Linked DNA regions of Homo sapiens: all the other regions are linked to region 2. Evidence: promoter capture Hi-C in human tissues and cell types (Jung and others, 2019). All regions are on one chromosome and are shown on one strand. Each heading gives the region's core, a stretch centred on a gene start or on the middle of the fragment in contact. The rest is flanking DNA. Distances are from core to core; before and after follow the strand shown.

Evidence for each region. The method cuts DNA at HindIII sites, captures the fragments that hold promoters and counts their contacts. A contact is called where the count stands out against the background at its distance.
Region 1: a contact is called between a fragment that was not itself captured here and the fragment with the promoter of APOBEC3H in region 2, in 1 of the 25 tissues and cell types used here (IMR-90 fibroblasts).
Region 3: a fragment that was not itself captured here is called in contact with the fragment with the promoter of APOBEC3H in region 2 in 5 of the 25 tissues and cell types used here (dorsolateral prefrontal cortex, heart left ventricle, heart right ventricle and 2 more).

The regions. Positions count from the first base shown.
Region 1 is chr22:39,508,349-39,511,048 of GRCh38, reverse strand. The region is part of intron 2 of MIEF1 (mitochondrial elongation factor 1); the gene reads right to left. Among named protein-coding and RNA genes, the nearest start is that of MIURF, 5.5 kb to the right of the region's middle. RefSeq lists an enhancer at 1-473. The HindIII fragment of the contact is 6,788 bases long and covers 1-2,700 here.
Region 2 is chr22:39,095,899-39,098,598 of GRCh38, reverse strand. APOBEC3H (apolipoprotein B mRNA editing enzyme catalytic subunit 3H) reads right to left here and starts at 1,355. Exons shown (of 5, transcript NM_181773.5): 1 at 1,256-1,355. RefSeq lists enhancers at 1-823, 1,154-1,493, 824-1,711, 1,034-2,233. The HindIII fragment of the contact is 18,686 bases long and covers 1-2,700 here.
Region 3 is chr22:39,352,769-39,355,468 of GRCh38, reverse strand. All of the region lies in intron 1 of SYNGR1 (synaptogyrin 1), which reads right to left. Among named protein-coding and RNA genes, the nearest start is that of SYNGR1, 4.1 kb to the right of the region's middle. The HindIII fragment of the contact is 5,350 bases long and covers 1-2,700 here.

The DNA.
Region 1 (2,700 bases), core at 154-2,653, 410 kb before region 2:
GATTAAGAAAGCATTAAGCTCAGTGTCAGTCCTTTTTTGTATTACAATGAAGTACCCCACCATGCAAAACAGCCCTCTCTCTGCCCCTTTACAATGTTAAAATGCAGGTCTCTACCCCTTCACAATGTTATAATGCAGGTCTCTACCCCTTCACAGGGGTTATAATGCAGGTCTCTACCCCTTCACAGGGGTTATAAAGCAGGTCTCTACCCCTTCACAGGGGTTATAATGCAGGTCTCTACCCCTTCACAGGGGTTATAATGCAGGTCTCTCTACCCCTTCACAGAGGTTATAAAGCAGGTCTCTCTACCCCATCACAGGGGTTATAATGCAGGTCATTTCTTCGTCCTTTGGCCACTACTTTGTGGAAGGTTAGATCTGAGCGGGACCTTGGAGCTCATCTAATGCCATCACATCACCTCACACAGAGGTTCTCAACATAGGGAGGTGATGTGTCAGGTCTCAGAGAAAAGAAATGGTACAGGCGCAGTGGCTCATGCCTATAATCCTAGCTACCCGGGAGGCTGAGGTGGGAAGATCGCTTGTGGCCAGAAGTTCAAGACCAACCTGAGCAACATGGCAAGACCCCCATCTCCAAAAGTAAAAGATAAAAATAAATTGAGCATGGTGGCACATGCCTGTAGTCCTATCTACTTAGGAGGCTGAGGCAGGAGGAATGCTTGAGCCCAGGAGTTTGAGGCTACAGTGAGCTATGATCACGCCACTGCACTCTAGCCTCAGTGACAGAGTGAGACCCCATCTCTTAAAAATAAAAATAAAAAAACAAAATGGGCCGGGCACGGTGACTCACGCCTGTAATCCCAGCACTTTGGGAGGCCGAGGCAGGCGGATCACCTGAGATCAGGAGTTCAAGACAAGCCTGGCCAACATGGAGAAACCCCGTCACTACTAAAAATATAAAATTAGCCAGATGTGACAGCGCATGCCTGTAATCCCAGCTTCTCAGGAGGCTGAGACAGGAGAATCCCTTGAACCCGGAAGGCGGAGGTTGCAGTGAGCCGAGATCACACGATTGCACTCTAGCCTGGGTAACAAGAGCTAAACTCCGTCTCAAAAACGAAAACAAAACGACACAGTCATCTCCAGAACTCAGGACTCCCCACTCCTTGTATGACGCTTTTTCTACTGTACCATGCTCACCCTTACCCAAATCAAATCGGCCCTTATTCTATCTACTTTCTGCAAACAAAACACAAAACAACATGTACCAAACATCCTGCACACGGAACTGAAACTACACGTCCATATGTGAGAAAGGTCCCTCCATGGACCCTCCTACTTGACAAATGCTTTGTTTCTTGAGAGAAGTGCGCAGCGGGGACTATAAAAGCTTAGGTGAGACTGGTATACCGGGAGATAAAAAACACAAAGGACACTGCAGACTCGACTGCTAACTGGAAAACAAAACACCCATCTGCTCGATTACACCTGGAAGAGGAACTAAAAATGTGTTCACCTGAAAGAAGTACTTGGGCACCACAGCGAAGAGGCTGGCCTCCAGTGCAGTGCTCAGGCCAGTGCTGCTCCCGACTACAGTGGAGTCTTCCTGACTGCAGCAGCAGCAGTCCCCAGATAAGCCCATTCCTGTGGAGTTAGAACCCTGGGCCTGAGCCGGATAAAGGATGACAGTGTGATTCAGATCGGAATACCACTCAGCATGCTGCCACTCTCCTCTATAATATCCCGTGTCCTTCACACCAGGAATGACATAAGGGAAAACAAAGTCGGATACCATTTAGCGTCCCAGAATGGGAGGACATCAAGAGACAGGATCAGCCGGGCGCGGTGGCTCACACCTGTAATCCCAGCACTTTGGGAGGCCAAGGTGGGTGGATCACGAGGTCGGAAGTTCAAGACCAGCCTGGCCAACATAGTGAAACCCCATCTCTACTAAAAATACAAAAAATTAGCCAGGCATGATGGTGCATGCCTGTAATCCCAGCTACTCGGGAGGCCAAGGCAGGAGAATCACCATTGCACTCCAGCCTGGGTGACAGAGCAAGACTCCGTCTTGAAGAAAAAAAAAAAAGGATCACTGAGGATTATCTTCCATGTAAAATAACATTCCTTCTAATACCGTGTTACAAGTGGATATTTCTAGCTTCCACATCTTACGCTCCTGCCTCTACCTCCCTGAAAAACAAAGAAATATTTCTGACTCTATTATTCCAGTAATTGAGTTAACTAAGAGTCACTGTCAAGCCCAAAAATATTTTTTTCCCTAACTAGAGTTCACACCTTGGGGGTACTTTCCTTTTCTCTACCATTTACAGTCAATAGAGGCTTCAGGTTTAGGGACATGAAAGACTATTTCGCCAAACCGAGTACATTCCCACCTCAAATGCACAGAGCAAAGCCAGGGAGAAGAGATAACGTTTGTATTTACAGGTGGAATCAGGGAAGAACAGCAGACACCCTCTCTCCAGTGGCCACTGAGATAGAGACGGGACAAACCAAACTTAGCAGAGGCAAGATAACCCAATCAGGAGAAAAGCAGAACACTATACATTTCCCCACACATAACAATGTCTCTTGTTTTAACTCTTTACTGAAATATTTACAATAGGGAGAGCCACTGGACACATGTGCCCTCTAAATGATCCTTGAGTGTGATGCAGCAGGGCCAGAAGGGCACCTCCTCACTCAGGGCAGAAGCAGCCTCCCTGGACCATTTTAGTC
Region 2 (2,700 bases), core at 106-2,605:
CATTAAAAATAAGAAAAGTGAATAAAATTCTCCCCTTCAAAATAAGAGCTCTTAATATTTCAGTTCAATTAATTCCTGGCATTTTACCTATTCATGTTATTTTATTTTATTTTTTTAGTTTTAGTAGATAAGGGGGTCTCCCTGTGTTGCCCAGGCTGGTTTGGAACTCCTGGCCTTTAGTGATGATCCTCCCCTCTCAGCTTCCCAAAGTGTTGGGATTACAGGCATGAGCCATTTTGCCTGGCCAGGCAGGAAAATGGCGTGAACCCAGGAGGTGGAGCTTGTAGTGAGCCGAGATTGCGCTCCAGCCTGGGCAACAGACTGAGACACCCCTTCTCAAAAAAACAAAACGAAACAAAAAATCAGGGTAGCACTTCCATCCCCAGGCCCAGGCCACTCTTCTAAGTGCTGAGAGGATCTGAGCTCACGTGAGGCTGCCCTAGGCCTGCAGGGGCCATTCTCATCTTACAGAGGAGGGGCCAGAGGTGCAGAGAGGTGGGGTAACCTGCCCAGGCCATGGAGCTGGGCCACTTTCCTGGCCAGCCCTGCCAGCCTCTGCATCACGGGCCCTGCAGGAGGGAGCCTTTGGGAACCAGGCTCTCTTCTTCCTAAATTTTAAAATAAAAGCATTTCTCCTGATCATTGAGTTTTTCCGTATATTCCGTGTTACTGGTGTCATTATAAACGGTGAATGTGAATACTGATCATGGAGGAGGAGTGTGTGTTCAGGGTCATCTGCATCCTCCTCTGCCCACAGTGGAGACATCCTTGGAAGAGATGATTTGCCTTGTGCTTCAGAGATCATTGCCTCCCCACACCCTCTCCTAAGACTTTGTATTGAAACAAAGTAATCTTACACAAAGTTCATCAAAGCACTGTGAACAAAATTCCAGATTGCTCCCATCATCCTTTAGTTCAGTTCTCCCAGTTCCAGAGCCCAGGAATGGCAGGAAGCACACAGAGAGAGCACCCTCCCAAGGTGGGGAGCACTAGCCCAGCCATGACTCTTAGGGGAGAGTCTCAGCAGGGGTCTTGGGCTGGTGCAGGCCGGGGAGGCGGCCCGTTCAGAAGCAGCAGTGGGGTGACCACACAGCAGGGCAAAGAGCCTGGGTGGGAGTGGGGATGGCAGGGGAGCCAGAGGAGAAGGAGCCCAGGGCTGGGGCTGGGGCAGCGGGAGGCCAGGGCTGAGGCACAGAAGGGCTGCCAGGCAGGAAGTGGCAGCAGAGGGCCCAGTGGACAGAGTGGGCGGCAGTACCTGATCTGTGCTTCTGGCCACAGCTTCCTTAGCAGACTTGCCCCTGCTTGTCTGAGGCACTAAGTTTCACTTTTGGCAGCTCTCCCAAAAGTCACAAAAGGTCAGCTCTCCCAAAAGTCACAAAAAGTCACTGCTTGATGAGGGTGGCTCCACCCTCTTCCTTTTGTGGGACTGGAGTGGGAGGGCCCTGGGGTGCTTCAGATCCCTCAGGCTCCTTTCTTTCTCTATTTCCTCGGGCTTGGCAGGGGAAGTCTGATGGAGGTGGCTCACCTCCCATCCTCCCACCCCCAATTCCCTCTCCAGGTACAGCCAGACTCAACTCCCTCCCCAGGTATAGTTTACAAAAGAACAAAGGCCAGATGCGGTGGCTCACACCTGTAATCCGAACACTTTGGGAGGCTGAGGTGGGCAAATTACAAGGTAAGGAGATGAAGACCATCCTGGCCAACATGGTGAAACCCCGTCTCTGCTAAAATACAAAAAATTAGCCAGGTTTGGTGGCCTGCGCCTGTAGTTCCAGCTGCTTGGGAGGCTGAGGCAGGGAAATTGCTTGAACCTTGGAGGCAGAGGTTGCAGTGAGCCGACGTCGCACCACTGCACTCCACCCTGGCAACAGAACGAGACCCTGTCTCAAAAAATAAATAAATAAATAAAAATAAAAAAGAAAGAAAAAAGAAAGGAATTGATGGCTGGTCACGGTGCCTGTTATCCCAGCACTTTGGGAGGCTGAGGCAGGTGGATTGCCTGAAGTCAGGAGTTCAAAATCAACCTGGCCAACCGCACTCCAGCCTGGGCAATAAGAACAAAACTCCGTCTCAAAAACTAAACTAAACTAAAATAAATGAAAGGAATAGAAGCCACAGAAAGGAGCAGGGATCCAGACCAGGGCTGACACCATAGACCAGATGCCACTCCCCTGGTGGACAGGGCAGGCTGCAGCCCCCTCCCCACCACCCCACTGACCTTTGGCATTCAGCCTCCTGGCAGGACCCTGAGCCTGATGTGAAATGAGCACTGGGGTCAGGCTCAGGACTGCATCTCCAGCGGATCCAGTGCCCATTATCTAGCCCAGTCCCCAGATAGCACTGGGAGGGGAGGGCAGTGATCCTGACAGTCAGAGGAGGTCCCAAGCACAGAGAGGCTAAGATACTGTCCCCACGTCACACAGCAAATCAACAGCAGAGCTGGAGTGCTGGCCAGGACTTCCTGTGTCCCTTCTCCCCCACAGCTAGCTACTTTGAGGTTCTTCATTGCTCCATGGAAAGGAGCAGGAGAGGAGACACGAGGGAGGGGACTTACTGCTCCTAAAGGGCCTCCCAGGTCAGAGATGAAGGACCTGGACTTCACATTTGCATTCTGGAACCCATGTCCTCGTCTTCATGCATATCAACCAACACCCTTCAGATCATAAACACCAAAGAGCCAGGCCAGGTGCTGTGGCTCAC
Region 3 (2,700 bases), core at 51-2,550, 260 kb before region 2:
GAAGAAGCGGCGGAGCGGCCGGCCACAGGAGGTGAAGAGGTGAGAAAGACTCCAGGGTGGTCAGCAATAAATAACAAACAAGGGCCGTGGGCCCACCTTCCTGTCTAGGTGACAGGGCTGTGCCCGGTACTGGGAGAGGACAGGCTGGACGTGACCACGCATTTCCAGCCACAGAGCCCTCTCCAAACCAAGCTTCCACAGGAGCTTCCGAAATACCCTTGACCCTCTCTCCAGCTTCCCACTGCCCTCAGAGGAAGTCCAGCTTGTGAGTCTGTCATCCAAGCCTCTCCTGGGCCACCCCTTGGGAATTCCTTCTTGTAGTGACCCGAGCCTCTGGGACAGTGCTTCCCACTCAATCCTGTTCTCGTTATTGGAGCGAGAGTGCCTTGGGGTGGCACTGAGCACTCAGCTGGCACTGAGCAGGGGACTTGTGGAATGAACAAATGAACATCAGAACTGGCCAGAGGTTCTGTCTCTACCCTGGACCCTCTTCCCCAACAACCGCTGGTCCCAGAATTTTCCTGTGGCCCCATGGCTGGCACATGGCAAGTTGGTTGGGGGAGGCAAGGGGTCTTATCTTGAAACTGCTGTGTTTACAAAAAACGTTCAGCTTTTTTTTTTTTTTATTTGAGACAGAGTTTTGCTTTTGTTGCCCAGGCTGGAGTGCAGTGGTGTGATCTCAGCTAACTGCAACCTCCGCCTCCCGGGTTCAAGCGATTCTCCTGCCTCAGCCTCCTGAGTAGCTGGGATAACAGGCGACCGCCACCACGCTCAGCTAATTTTTGTATTTTAGTAGAGATGGGGTTTCACCATGTTGGCCAGGATGGTCTCGAACTCCTGACCTCAAGTGATCCACCCGCCTTGGCCTCCCAAAGTGCTGGGATTATAGGCGTGAGCCACCTCACCTGGCCAAGTTCAGCTTTTTTATTCAGTGTTCACTTGGGATGATGGGGGGTGGAGTGGAGGGGGTGAATAAAACCAGGGGTATGAAGCTGCCCCCCTCAGGCCACCCCTTGGTGCCATGGATATCCAGGCAGAGAACCCACAGGGAGTACACAGAATGTGGAGCCCAGCAGTCCGGGTTCAAACCAAGTCTCTGACAAGCCCAGGCCTTGAGCTAGCACAAGTCACTTCTCCAGGCTGAGCCTTAATTCTGTCATTTGTAAAACGGGGGGAAGATACCCACCCCACTTACAGAACCATGTGGTATTATGGCCAAAGCCCTTAAAAAATGAACCCTGAAAATGGCAACATTTCAAACATTTTATCATTTTCATTTTGTCAAAGTAGAGAATTAAAGAAACATTGACTGGGCACGGTGGCTCACACCTGTAATCCCAGCACTTTGGGAGGCTGAGGCGGGTGGATCACTAGGTCAGGAGTTTGAGACCAGCCTGGCCAAGATGGTGAAACCCCGTCTCTACTAAAAATTTAAAAAGTAGCTGGGCATGGTGGTGGGTGCCTGTAATCCCAGCTATTTGGGAGGCTGAGGCAGGAGAATCACTTGAAACCAGGAGGCAGAGGTTGCAGTGAGCCAAGATCGCGCCACTGCACTCTAGCCTGGAGACAGAGCGAGACTCCATCTCAAAAACAAAAAACAAACAAACAAAAAACTCATCTGCCAGCACTGATATTCATTCCCTATAGTCCATCTTAGCCCCCTGCAAAAAAGAATATAAACTCCAAATAAAAGGTGGTCCTTTCTATTAAATCAGTTTAGCTTCTTGCTGTAACTCCTTTTTTTCCCATCTGGCTTTAGAACAAAGAAATGAGTCACTGACAGGCGGCAGTCACCGCGCAACAGATCAGGCACTTCTGACCCAGCCCAGCCCAGTTCGGGTGGGAAGACTGAGGCACAGAGGGTGGGGAGGGGACACTTACTGAAGGTCACAGCTGTGGCCTGGGGGTGCCAGGAGTGGCAGCTGATCTGCCACTGGGGCGATGACACCAAGAGGTGAGAAAGCCTTAGTCAAGAGACAAGCCATGCCGGATGCAGTGGCCCACGCCTCGCCTCATCGTCCCAGCTGCTCACAAGGCTGAGGTGGGAGGATCACTTGAGTCCAGGAGTCTGAGACCAGCCTGGGCAACACAGCAAGATCCTGTCTCTAAAAAAATAAAAAAGAGACAAGCCAGGTCTTGGAGGCCCTGCTTCTGTGCAGGCTGACCCAGGGGCTCAGAGGGCTTGGGTTCCAGGGTGGGTCCAGGTTGGTGAGGCCCTGAAGCTTACATGATTTGGGGGCCCTCTTTTGGAAAAGCAACAGAAAAAAAAATCTTTCTTTTACAAATTTTACAAAAATCCCAGGTCCAGGCCGGGTGCGGTGGCTCACGCCTGTAATCCCAGCACGTTGGGAGGCCAAGGCAGGTGGATCACCTGAGGTCAGGAGTTCGAGACCAGCCTGGCTAACATGGTGAAACCCCATCTCTACTAAAAATACAAAAATTAGCTGGGCGTGGTGGTGTGTGCCTGTAGTCCCAGCTACTTGGGAGGCCGAGGCAGTAGAGTTGCTTGAACCTGGGAGGCGGAGGTTGCAATGAGCCGAGATGGCACCATTGTACTCCAGCCTGGGCAACAGAGCAAGACTCCATCTCAAAAAAAGAAAAAAAACAATCACAGGTTCATGTGCACATGCTGTTAGGGCCCCTCCAGGGCTGTGGTAGGGGTCTGGGTTGTCCAGGAGTCCTGGACAGGGTGACAAATTG